Regions from separate parts of the Homo sapiens genome. Here all the other regions are linked to region 1. The links are contacts of gene promoters, found by promoter capture Hi-C in human tissues and cell types (Jung and others, 2019). All regions are on one chromosome and are shown on one strand. The core of a region is centred on a gene start or on the middle of the fragment in contact, and the rest is flanking DNA. Distances in the headings are between cores, read along the strand shown. Region 1 holds the start of DOCK8 (dedicator of cytokinesis 8). Region 2 has its middle 330 kb from the start of SMARCA2. Region 3 overlaps LOC102723803 (a long non-coding RNA gene). Region 4 overlaps LOC105375951 (a long non-coding RNA gene).

Region 1 (3,015 bases), core at 516-3,015:
AGAAACTCTAAATTTCAAAAAAGCTTTATTTTTCTTTGGGTTTGTTTTCGTATGTAGTCTATTGTAGTCTATGCAGTGAACTTTGTCTTATATGCTTAAAAGGGCACTGATATTTGGTGGGCATTGGGGGGCGGGGAGTTACCTAACCAGTACTGAAAAGTTACTAAACTACCTGACACAGCTGAAACCAGGAAGGAAGGCTGTATCAGGAAGAGACTGAATATAGTCCTTAGGTGGATTTTAGTATTAGGTGACAAATTAGGTTGTATTGGACTGGCACTGTCCAATAGGAATATAATGAGGCTCACAAATGTGAGCCACATGTGTAATTTTACATTTTTAAAAATGCAAACCACATTTTTAAAAGGGGAAAACAAACAGGTGAAATTAACTTTAATAATATATTTTTTATATCCAAAGTATCATTTAACATGCAATCAACATGAAAATCATTAACAAGACATTTTACACGATGTTTTCTGCGCTGTCTTTAAATTCCAGTGTACATTTTACACATCCAGCAGTGGGCAATTCAGACTAACCATAATGCCGAGTGGTCAATAGCCACATGTGGCTAGTGGCTATCATATTAAATAGTGCAGGTTTGAACCAAAAATACTTCGCTTTGGTTGTTTTTTTTTTTTTCTTTTAGACGGAGACTTGCTCTGTCGCCAGGCTGGAGTGCAGTGGCAGATCTCGGTTCACTGCAAGCTCCGCCTCCCGGGTTCAAGTGATTCCCCTGCCTCAGCCTCCCAAGTAGCTGGGACTAAGGCGTGCGCCACCACGCCCGGCTAATTTTTTGTATTTTAGTAGAGACGGGGTTTCACCACGTTGGCCAGGATGGTCTCGATCTCCTGACCTCGTGATGCGCCCGCCTCGGCCTCCCAAAGTGCTGGGATCACAGGCGTGAGCCACCGCGCCCGGCCTGCTTTGGTATTTTTTAAGAGCAAGTTGGTAAATGGAGGCATTATATGGAGAGTGCTCGAGTATATATAGCACAGGTTAGAGCAGCACGCCGGCACCTTGAAGCGAACACGGGCTCCTCCACTCCCGTCAACACTGGGACTTTTCTGTTTTTATCTTGAGTTTGAGGCCGGGCTTCTTAGCAGACCTCAGTCTGAAACTGAAATAAACCTGGACGCAGCGTACCCTTGAATCGCAAGAACGCCGCCTTCAGTGTTTCTCCGGAGAAAAGCATTCACGCCAGGTTGTGACGAAAACATTTTTTGAGAACTCATAATGTTTATTCCTTGGATGAATCCATTATATTTATTTAGTGTCTCAGGAAGGATGATGGGCATATTGCTTGCAAAAGTTGATTTGAATCCTGATAGATTCCACTAACTTTTTTGTCTTTTTTTTTGGCTGCCTTCTTCGAGAATGGTGTCAACCCTTAATAACACCTAGCCTTACGAATCCCTGGGGTGATTCCCGACCTCGCCAGCTTTGTGGGGCTCCCCCGACTTGCCTACATTCCCTGGCAGCCTCGCAGCTTCGGGCAGATGGAGCTTCCGGCCTGCGCGCAGTGGTCGCCTGTCGTCCGCCCGCGCTCCCTTCGGCCGGAGGTCGGCGGCCCCGGGCAGAGCGCGCCGTCTGCCCCAGTATCGGGAGGCCAGTTCCGCGCTGGGCCCACGCCCTCCTCGCCCGCCGCTGCCTGCGCGCCAGGCCGGGTGGCGGAGCCGGCCGTCGCTGCTCCGAGCTCGGACCCTCCCCCGGGGTGATTTCGGCTTAGAAGGTGGAAATGCGGAAGTTTCCAGCGCCGACCGACAGACGAGGTTTGCGCTTGGCTGGGCATGTTCCGCGGCTACTCTGCGGCGCGCCAGGCCCCCGCTTTCCGCACCCCGCGACCCTAGAAGCCACCGAACCGCCGGCGGGCCATGGCCACTCTGCCGAGCGCAGAGCGCCGCGCGTTCGCGCTCAAGATCAACAGGTAAGACGCCCCCCGCGGCGCGCAGGTTGCGGCCGGACAGCCCAGCGCTGGTGTGAAGCGGAGCTTCGCTGCAGGGGCCGAGGCCGGACGAGTCCATTCGCGTCCGCGGCGGGGCGCGCCTGAGACCTGGGGCGCCCGGTTCCCGAGGCTGCGGCGGTGGAGCCGCTGGACGCGCGGCGGCTCCTGCGCTGGGCCCGGCGAGGTCCTCCCCAAGAATCTCGGTGCTCCTGGATGTCCTCAGCCGCCGGGGATCCCTTCCCCGAACAACCTCGCCCGCTCCGCCCTCCAGGTTCTTACAGGTGGCCGGGTCCCAGAAGGGTGATAGGCGCCTGGGTAACCGTGTTGGGCGCGCCACGGAGTGTCTCATAAACGGCTCCTTCCTTTGAGGCAAGTCTGAGCGCGGGGGGAAGAAGTGAAGTGGCTGAAATTAGAGTTGCGTTTGAGGCAGGCTGCAAGCCTTCTGTCGTCCTGAGCAAGGCTCCGTCCTCGCCTGCTTCATTATTCCAGAAAGAGCTTGGCTCCTGGTGGCATCGCTATTTTTATACCCTGGTCCAAAGGAGCCATGAAGTGGAAAAAGTGATTTTTTAAAAAATCTACACTTAAATAAACCAAAAGAAATGGCCTGTGGCTGACATTTTGAGATTTACAGAACTCCAGCAAAAAGCTAAGGACTGGGGGATCCCAACTCACCATCCAATTCCTAATCAAAGTTGCACAAACTAAATATGTAAGCACATTTACTGCTCAAAGTTCTCAGTAAAGGTGCTTTAACTGCAGTTTTTCCTCCACTAAAAACTGCTGACAAGTAATTGGGACATTTTTGTCTTGCCCTGAGAAAGCTAGACTGTCTAGTTAAAAGATAATAGGAAACTCATTCTAAAGTGTCAACTTATTCTATTGCCCACAGGGCTGTCCGATTTGTTAATCTTCACTTAGCTGAGCCTGTGAAAGGTGGATTCCACCGTAGGTTCATCTTTGTGCTGTTAGTGTGTGAAGAGGTTTGAACAAGGAATTAAAAGCCTAGAAAAACAAGGCGATAAGGTCTTCTAGAGGGCATATCGAGCTTTATTGACGATTTTATTTCC
Region 2 (2,785 bases), core at 233-2,732, 1.5 Mb after region 1:
ATTATTTCTATTTGCTGCACAGTGTGAGATGTGCTTTACATGTGGGCTTTTTCAGTTTTCACAGCTACAAGGTGAGGTTTGGCAGTGGGATCTTCCAAACCCCAGGTTAAACAGCAGGCTCTTTATTTTCATTTGAGGCACAAAGAAGCAGGAAGACCCACAAGTTCTATCGTGCCATTCCTGACATACAGACTCTGAAGTCAGTTCTTGCTTCATTTCTTGGAAAAATGTAGTTACGTCTGCAGAGCATAAATCTGTGAAAACACAAAATTAATACATCATATCCATCTTCAAAGTATCCACATTTGGGAATTGGGAAACTACAGTGAGTATTTTTTCTGCAACAAATCAGAGACTAAGCCAGACACTGAAGCCCCAGAATGCACCTGTGTTCAACAGTTCTATCTGCGGAGTAACCCGGCATGATCTACTGCACTAGCTCTTTCAAAGAGAAGCCTCAGAAGGGAGGAGAAGAATGTCTGAGGGTTTGTCTGGGGAAAAATAAAAGAAATAATTGTTCTAAAAAAAGGAGAAATTGGTATTTCACTGGCAGCCCAAGTTGCACAGGAACACTTTAAACTTCTGTGGCCGGTATCCTTCATCTGAAAATCACCAACTTGTTTAAAAAACCCTCATCTGGGGATTTAGTTGCCTGCAATCACACAACCTGAAACTGAGTGTGTCTAGATACCCATTTGTCCACAGCAGGGGGCCCTGGGGTACTCTGGTGGGCTGCAGCATGAATTCTGTTCACCAGCATATGCATGGGAAGCAGCTGAAAGAGAAATCCATTTTTCAACCTAAGTTATCAGCCATTAAGAAGAAGGAGGGACATGGAAATTAGATCATGATTTTGATGGGCCCCATGGTGTATGATAGAGGGGCCATTTCTGCCCCAGACTTGGCACTTGACCACGCTGTACATGGTCCCCAATTTTCGTTCCCTTAAGATAGAGATAACATGATCCTGTCTAAGAACAATACATGTGGCCATGGTGCACAGAGCTTTGGGGTATGTGTGTGTCTGTGGGTAATGAATCTAAAACCCTCCCTTCAAATTGAATTTGGTTTAATGTTTTTCAGTCTGCACCTACAGTATTTAATTTCTCTCTCATCTTTTTTAACTGTGAAATTGTACTCTTTCACTGGTAAAGCATTTTGGCATGCTGCAGGGGTAAATGGCATTGTGGAAAATAAAGCTGAGTTATGTTGTAGTAATAATATTAAAGCAGCTCAGAAAGAGGCTTAGTAGCATCTGGCATAGCGGGTGGCCACGTGGACTGGAAGTCAAGGACCTGAGGGCTCATCTTTATCCTACCACCATACCAATGTGTAACTTTAGCCAAATCATTTATCTTCCTTGGGTTCCTGGTTCTTTATTGATAAAATGGACAGATCATAGGTGGTATGCAAGATCTCTTTCCACTTCAGCAGATTCTGGTCTGCGTCACTTTGCAGAATTCTTTTATTCACCTGCAAACATTCACCTACCATTATGTGCCATTTACTGTTCTAGAGCTTGGGGATTCAGGAATAAATAAGCTATGGTCCTGCTTCCGTAGAATTCAGAGTCTAATTCAGGAGGGTCAGCAGTGGCATGAGGAATGTAAACATACATGAAAATGACTACAACACAATAGCTGTCAGAAATACGGAACTTTTAAGGACAGAGTAGTTAATTCTGGGTGCTGGAGTGAGCGGATCATGTCATGATTTGAAAGATAATATAACATTTATCTGGATAACAGGCAGGAAGTTTGCCAATTAAGAAGGATGGGATGTACAAAGATCACTCCAGGCTAGAAAAACCCCAGGTACAAAGGGACATAAGCCAGACATAGAATGGTATGTTTACAAGACAGCAAATAAACTAAAGGGGGAATGGTGGGCCATGATGCTGGCAAAAGTTAAATTGGGGTTACCTCATGCCTGACCATATAGAAAACAGGGAAGTAAGTTTAGTTATTGCCATGTAGTACACACAATACAGATTCGAAATAGGGAGCATTCGAATAGGGAGCATTCGAAATAGGGAGAAACTGTTGGAAAAAGAAATAGATGTGGTTGAGGGAAAAAGGTGAAATAATAATTCCTGTGGTAGATGAATTGAAAAAGATAAAAATATAATGATTTTCGCTTTCAAGCTTGGTGACTAGGTGAGTAGCAGGAATATTTCCAGCAGCAAGTGCCAAAAAATTCAACGAACGGTTATTTAAGCCATAACAGAATTTGTTATTTTCTTAATGGGAAACATGGAATGAGATGGTTTTGGAAGATAAAGCTTCTTTTTGGAATCAGTGTTTTCATCATGATCCAGAAGGCCTTATTCATGTTTGAAGCTATGTTTTGGGTGCATACTGATTAAGAATCGTATATCTACCTGGTAGACTGACTTCCATATTATTATGACATGCTACTCTCTATTGTTATTCTTGCCTTAGTTCTATATTTATTCTTGCCTTAGAGAATAATTGTGAAATATTAGTGCAGTTACATTGGCTTTCTTTTTCTCTTGCTAGAGTTTGCATGATATATGCTTTTATTTTGAATTTTTCTGTGTATTTACAATCAAGACATTTCTAGTAAGCATCATATAACTGGGTTTCATTATTTTATCCAGGTGATAACATTTATATTTTACATAGATTAGTTAATTTAAAGGTAATTTCAGACATATTTAAGATTTTTCTCTACAATCTTACGATTTTTTTCTTTTTGATCCTCCTGCTTTATGTTATTGTCTTTTGTTGATTTCTTTTAGAATAATCAAATATTTTAAGCATTT
Region 3 (3,049 bases), core at 264-2,763, 1.1 Mb after region 1:
GTACATTATTTTGCCAAAAAATAACTTGAAAATTAGTTTTTCCTCTTGCCTTTCCCACTGTATATGAACCTGAGAAAGAACAAATGTGATGCTGTGCTAGGTAAGAGACATGTGGCTGCAGATGGTCTGGAGAGCCTTGAGGCTACCCAGTTCAAGTCAGATGCACCTGGATCTTTTTCAGGGGTTGGGATAGAGGGGCTTGGAGTTTTTTGGCCTGGTAACTGATGTGCTTGATTAACTAACAGCATCAAATGAAAGCAGGCCAGGGCTTGGCTGTGAATTTCACTACCCTCTGCAGACTCACCTAGAGTCCTCCCACGTTGAGTGGAAGCACAGGCTTCTGTCTTTCATGTGTCTAATCTGCTTTTCTACTGCACACTCTCTGGTTTCTCCCATCATGATCCCTGGGAAAGAAGGAAGGTCCAGTCTCTTTCTGCCCCTCAGGAACAGCCTACCTTATTCTCTCCTTGGCTTCCTGCAGCAGCCAACGCTTCAGGCTTAGAAAGAAAAAGAAAACCCTAAAGGAGAGTGACATCTGCCAGAATGATTATTCCCACATTTAAGGCCTGACTTGGGTTAGCATGAATTGAAAGATCAACAGGCATGTATTTTTTTTTCTGAGGAAAATGTATCTTTCTTATTCTTTTTTACTGGGTGGGGTAGTGGGATGTGTATGGGAAAATCCAAAGACAGGGTGTACTGTGTGTTTCAGAGCTGTATGAATATGAGATATAATCCAGGAGTAGAACTCATGTCTACTCTCACCCCTTAGGCCTCTAGCGGAATTTGTGGAAAATGAAAATAAGACTTGAAATATTCCAGATATGGCTCACTGAGGCCACTTCTTCTTCTTTCTTTTTTCTTCTTCTTTCTTCTTCTTCTCACTTTGTTGCCCAGGCTTGAGTGCAGTGGCACCATCTTGGCTCACTGTGACCTCCACCTTCCGGGTTCAAGTGATTCTCCTGCCTCAGCCTCCCAAGTGGCTGGGCCCACAGGCATGTGCCACCACTTCTGGCTAATTTTTAGTGGAGATGGGGTTTCACCATATTGGCCAGGCTGGTCTTGAACTCCTCACCTCAAGTGATCTGCCCCTCTCAGCCTCCCAAAATTCTGGGATTACAGGCGTGAGCCACTGCGCCCAGCCCTCACTGAGACTTCTAATGTAAGTTGCTAACCTTGACTGAGTCAGTATTAAGTACTAGGTATTGTGCATGTACTTCATGTGCATCTTCTTTAATTTTTACAGGAACCCTGGGTGGCAGGTACTATTGGCACCATTTTCCAGATAAAGAAAATGAAGTTCTAAGCAGTCAAATGACATGTCAAGATCACCCAACTGGTAAGCGACTTAGGGGGTATTCCTGCCTTCCTCAAAGATGTTTGGGTTCCCCCAGTGAGGATCTCATAACATTGTTGATAGACATGTCAAGACACCCTCGAGTATACTAGCTGCAAATGTCCTGTCATACATCCCTGGTGCCACATGATGGTAGGCATTGTTGAGAACAGCTCCAACACCAGGGAGGAGGACATAAGGCGTATATGTAAGGAGCATCTATGATAGAATTCAAAACAAGCAGGGCACAGGCAGAGGGTCTTCTATAGTATTCTTTCATAACTGGGATACCTGTCTTCTTGTGAAGAGGACAGCAGCTACTTTTCATTTTTCTGAAACCTTAAGATTGTAGGGAGGCCAGGGGCTTGACAAAGCAAGCATATGTGTGTGAAATGTGTGTGTGACACAGACTCAGGTCTGTGTCAGTGTATGTGTGTGCAAGGGCACTGATGCTGGTTGGAATCCTTTTCCATCCAGAACCCAGTAAACCTCAGAGAGGGAGGCTTCTTGGCTAGACTCTATCTGACAGGACAGAGAGATAATGGTAGCCATTAGAGGGGATTCCAAGATAATGATTGGAAACCCAGCTTCATAGGCTCACTCATTTCACAAACCCAGAACTATGTCATGGACCAAAGAACACAGGGACAGAGTGAACTATGAGAAAACTTGCATATCTAGGCAAAGGCTGAGGGAATTTCCGAAATTATTTCTAATAAGATGTGAAAGTTAGGCTTAAAAGATACTTGATCTAGTATGTTCATACTTCATGTAGCTTAGAATAAGCTATTCAACAGTAAACTGCATGCTCAACTTGAGTAAGGATCTCTGCTCTACTGCTTTATAAATGAGACGAGAATGTGGTTTGTGGCATCAGCATCAAATGGAAGATTGTTAGAAGTGCAGAATCTCAGGTCCCATCCAAGACCCACTGAATCAGAGTCTGCATTTAAAAAAGATCCCCAGGTAGGTTGGATGTACAGTGATGTTTGAAAACTACTCTGCTAAAACATACTAAACAATAGCACAATGTGCCAAAGATATTGATTAGTAGTCTCAACCCTGGCTGAATATTCCAGTCTTTGGGTGGCCCCACTCCAGACCAATTATATCAGATTTTTTTTTTTTTGGAGTAGAGGCCAGGCACTGGCATTTAAAAAAACTTGTAGGGTGCAGCTAAGATTGACAGTGCCCTGATTTAGATGGTAGGTGCCCCACATGAGTGGGTAAATGTTGCTTTATTGACTGGAGTTCTGAAAGAGTTGGCCCTGTGACATGGTATTACTTAACGTGTCTGTTAGTGATTTAGGAGAGTACATATAAGACATCCTGATTCCATCTGCCAATGATAGGGGATTGCACTATATTGCTAGCTAACATCCTGAAATTCAGCAGGATTAAAATGCTAAGTGATTGTGACAAGAGTGGAAAAAGTGTGGACAAGTGTGAAGGTCCTACTGATTCTCAGAGGACATTCATCCATTCATAACAAGAAATTGTCCAGCGGTCAAAGTGAAGAATGGCTCAGCAATGGAGGGCTGTGATTAAAAAGGCAGAGAAAAATAAGAGCATGAGAAATGTAGAGGAGAAACAAATCATTACATAGTCTTCCCCTGGTACTTGATATTGGTTAGGACTTTCTATGGCATCACCCAAGTTAGGATGCTGGAATTGAAGTGCAATTATGATGAGCTTTGGATATTTTCAGGGGAG
Region 4 (3,094 bases), core at 453-2,952, 1.5 Mb after region 1:
TGGGTGGCTTACTTTTCTCCATGAGGGAAAGGTGGAAGAAACAATATTGGCTAAGCAAATGTTAATATTCAGAATATGATTTAAAGTACAGAGCTCAGATTGGCTTTTCCATTACACTGAAGGATTACAGAGATGCGGAGAAACACTGTTGGTTCATCATTACTAACACATACGTGCCAGGACATACAGGCAGGTCGAAAGATTGAAAAGCAACCACCTTAGCTCTGAATTCCAGGGAGTTTACAGGCTTAAATCACAGAGACTTGACATCAGGCAAATGGAGTTTCTGAGGCTGAACAATAATTTGGAATCAAAGGTATTTGAGAATGCCAATTATTAAGAAAAATTCTTTTCTCAGGATCACCATAGCAAAGAAACTCCTAGAAATGTGGTTATGCCAGTTCTTGCCTTCCATAATTTAAGCTGTCTGTACCTTTTTGTTGGAAGTAAGCATTTTGACCAACCTGGTTTGATATTCCACGTAGTCCTGTGAGAAGATGGGGAAAATCTGTGATAGAGGTTCCTGGAGAAAAAAAAATCTCAAGCCTGTTAAAAGACAGGGCAGATTCACCTTTGAACAGGATTACATCATGTGTATTCAAGGACTGGGGCCACTGCACTTCTCCTCTTAGTGGGAAAAGACCATTTGACCATATCTTGACTTTCTTCACCTTTAGGTGAAGAAAGTAGAGATTTTGACTGATGACATAATAAAAGTTGAAATTTGGAGACTGAGTTAAAGAAGGGAAGGCCTCTTCTTGATGTTGACGTGATAGGAGACATACATACACACAGACACACACACACACACACAGACACATACCTTAGATATTGTTTGTTAAGCAAAAGATTGTGAATTTGAAAGAGCCAGCAGCTACTCTACTACTTGCAGATGCTATTTAGCACTTCTAGTACTGTTATTTAATGTTTTCATGTCCAGTCACTTCAACTACATTGTAAGCCCCTTAAAATCAGGGATTAGCTATTTGATGCTTCTCCCAGTGAAAGTAACACATGGCCTCACACTGTGATGGAAAACAGTCTGATATAAGGAGAAAAATCTTACCTTAGGGGAAAAGGTATCTGGGGAAGGTTACTTCACTATTTGTAAAATCAGAGAGTTAGACTAAAGAAAGAAGCACAGAAGGGAGAAATAAACATGCGAGAGGGCAAATAATCCATAGGCTCCCTTGTATCATTCTCAAGTATGCATTAAAACTGGTTTTGATTATCTATTTTTTATTTACAAAACTTGTTTTTCTCAACCATATTGCAAGACAAGGTCTCTTACACATTTCCATCAGCTTTTTTTAAAAAAACCTTTTCTTTTCTGGGTTATGTTAATTATCTTAGTTATTCACCAAAATACCTCCAAATTGCCTAAGTGCATTGTAGTTTGAGTACATACTTACATGTTCATTTAACAAATAATGTTCAAGTGCCTACTTCGTGCTATGTATAGTCCTGAGTTTATGCATTTCAATTAGACATTAATGGTAAATATCAAGAAAAGTTGTGGTGAAGATTTAAATGTTAATAAAAGAGATGCAATATATCAGGTCATACATAGCTGAGGGTCCTGGAGGGAAGCATTTTCACTGGGCAGAGACTTTCTTGGGAAATACACAAGGGAAAATCAATCACATTATAGAATAAAAATTGGAAAATGACTAATTTGGAAAGGTTAGTTTTAGAACTGGAATTATTTGATCTCTAGAGGGAAAGATTAATGTTTAATGTCATAAAGTCATAAAAGCCCCAATGATTTTCTTCTTTTATATAATTTCTCTTCTAATCAAAGTAATGCACATACTTAGTTTAAAAAGGCAACTATTAATTACTGAAAAATAATAATTTTCAGCCCATCTCTCCATGTCTTGACACCTATCAAAAGCATATACTTTTGCTTATTTTATCTATTTTTAAATATTTAATAGTATATCATGTTTAAGTCTGGATTTAAACAGTTCTGCTTATCTATTTTTTATTCCCAAAACTTGTGCTCTCAATGAAATTGCAAGCTCCTGGGGTACAAGGACCTTGGGTGGCACTCTCTCCCTCATGGTCCCTGTACTACACTGCCAGGCAGACAGAAGATAGTCGCTGTTTGTTGCTTGATCAAATGTGGCAACCTTTCCTGAGGTTCCTCTAAATGCTCAAATGGCGGTGAGGATCAGTGGCCTCCCTAAGCAGCATCAGAGTTGGGGAGATTATATTAGAAGGGAGGATGATGGAGTGGGAATTTGGAATTAAAAGATGTTTGTTTGAGTTCTGTCTCACTTTTGCCTCTCTGGGTTTCAGTTCCTATCTGTAAAACAGCATTATCAGTTGTTTCATATAAAAGTTTTATTGTAAGGCCGGGCGCGGTGGGCCACGCCTGTAATCCCAGCACTTTGGGAGGCCGAGGTGGTAGGATCACAAGGTCAGGAGATCGAGACCATCCTGGCTAACACGGTGAAACCCCATCTCTACTAAAAATACAAAAAATTAGCCGGGCGTGGTGGCGGGCGTCTGTAGTCCCAGCTACTCGGGAGGCTGAGGCAGGAGAATGGCGTGAACCCGGGAGGCGGAGCTTGCAGTGAGCGGAGATCGCGCCACCGCACTCCAGTCTGGGCGACAGAGACACCTTCTCAAAAAAAAAAAAAAAAAAAAAAATACATTTTAAAGGGAACTAAATGAGATTTACATATACAACTGTAAAATGGTCCATAAATTAATCATTTGTCATTCTTACACTGTCCAACAGAACATCCTGTGAGGATGAAAATGTTGTATATCTGCTCTATTCAATATTGTAGCCATTAGTCACTAACTACATGTAGATACTGAGCACTTCAAATGTGATTGATATGACCAAGGAAGTGAATTTTAAAATGTATTTAATTTTAATTAATTTCAATTTCAATAGCTGATTTGGACAGCATAAATTTAGTCTACACAGAAAGGTAAACCAGGAGTCACAGCATCTGGACGACTTCACACTGACCTAAACCAAAATGTGAAAACAGATGGGGTCCTAAGAGGCTTACATGAGCCCCCGATGAAGGAATAGTAGAGAGTAGAAAGGGATGAGCCAAGTGGAGCAACACAAAGG

The links. The method cuts DNA at HindIII sites, captures the fragments that hold promoters and counts their contacts. A contact is called where the count stands out against the background at its distance.
Region 2: a fragment that was not itself captured here is called in contact with the fragment with the promoter of DOCK8 in region 1 in 1 of the 25 tissues and cell types used here (dorsolateral prefrontal cortex).
Region 3: a fragment that was not itself captured here is called in contact with the fragment with the promoter of DOCK8 in region 1 in 1 of the 25 tissues and cell types used here (dorsolateral prefrontal cortex).
Region 4: a contact is called between a fragment that was not itself captured here and the fragment with the promoter of DOCK8 in region 1, in 1 of the 25 tissues and cell types used here (dorsolateral prefrontal cortex).

The regions. Positions count from the first base shown.
Region 1 is chr9:213,100-216,114 of GRCh38, forward strand. It overlaps DOCK8 (dedicator of cytokinesis 8), which reads left to right and starts at 1,766. Exons shown (of 48, transcript NM_203447.4): 1 at 1,766-1,930. The coding sequence starts at 1,878. DOCK8-AS1 (DOCK8 antisense RNA 1) reads right to left here and starts at 2,651. Exons shown (of 1, transcript NR_160804.1): 1 at 358-2,651. RefSeq lists silencers at 1,521-1,770, 1,781-1,830, 1,881-1,930, 2,101-2,240. The HindIII fragment of the contact is 11,669 bases long and covers 1-3,015 here.
Region 2 is chr9:1,679,965-1,682,749 of GRCh38, forward strand. No RefSeq gene overlaps it. Among named protein-coding and RNA genes, the nearest start is that of SMARCA2, 330 kb to the right of the region's middle. The HindIII fragment of the contact is 3,787 bases long and covers 1-2,785 here.
Region 3 is chr9:1,309,694-1,312,742 of GRCh38, forward strand. LOC102723803 (a long non-coding RNA gene) reads left to right here. Exons shown (of 7, transcript XR_929415.3): 3 at 1,247-1,339. Among named protein-coding and RNA genes, the nearest start is that of DMRT2, 260 kb to the left of the region's middle. The HindIII fragment of the contact is 5,282 bases long and covers 1-3,049 here.
Region 4 is chr9:1,702,543-1,705,636 of GRCh38, forward strand. All of the region lies in intron 1 of LOC105375951 (a long non-coding RNA gene), which reads left to right. Among named protein-coding and RNA genes, the nearest start is that of SMARCA2, 310 kb to the right of the region's middle. The HindIII fragment of the contact is 5,902 bases long and covers 1-3,094 here.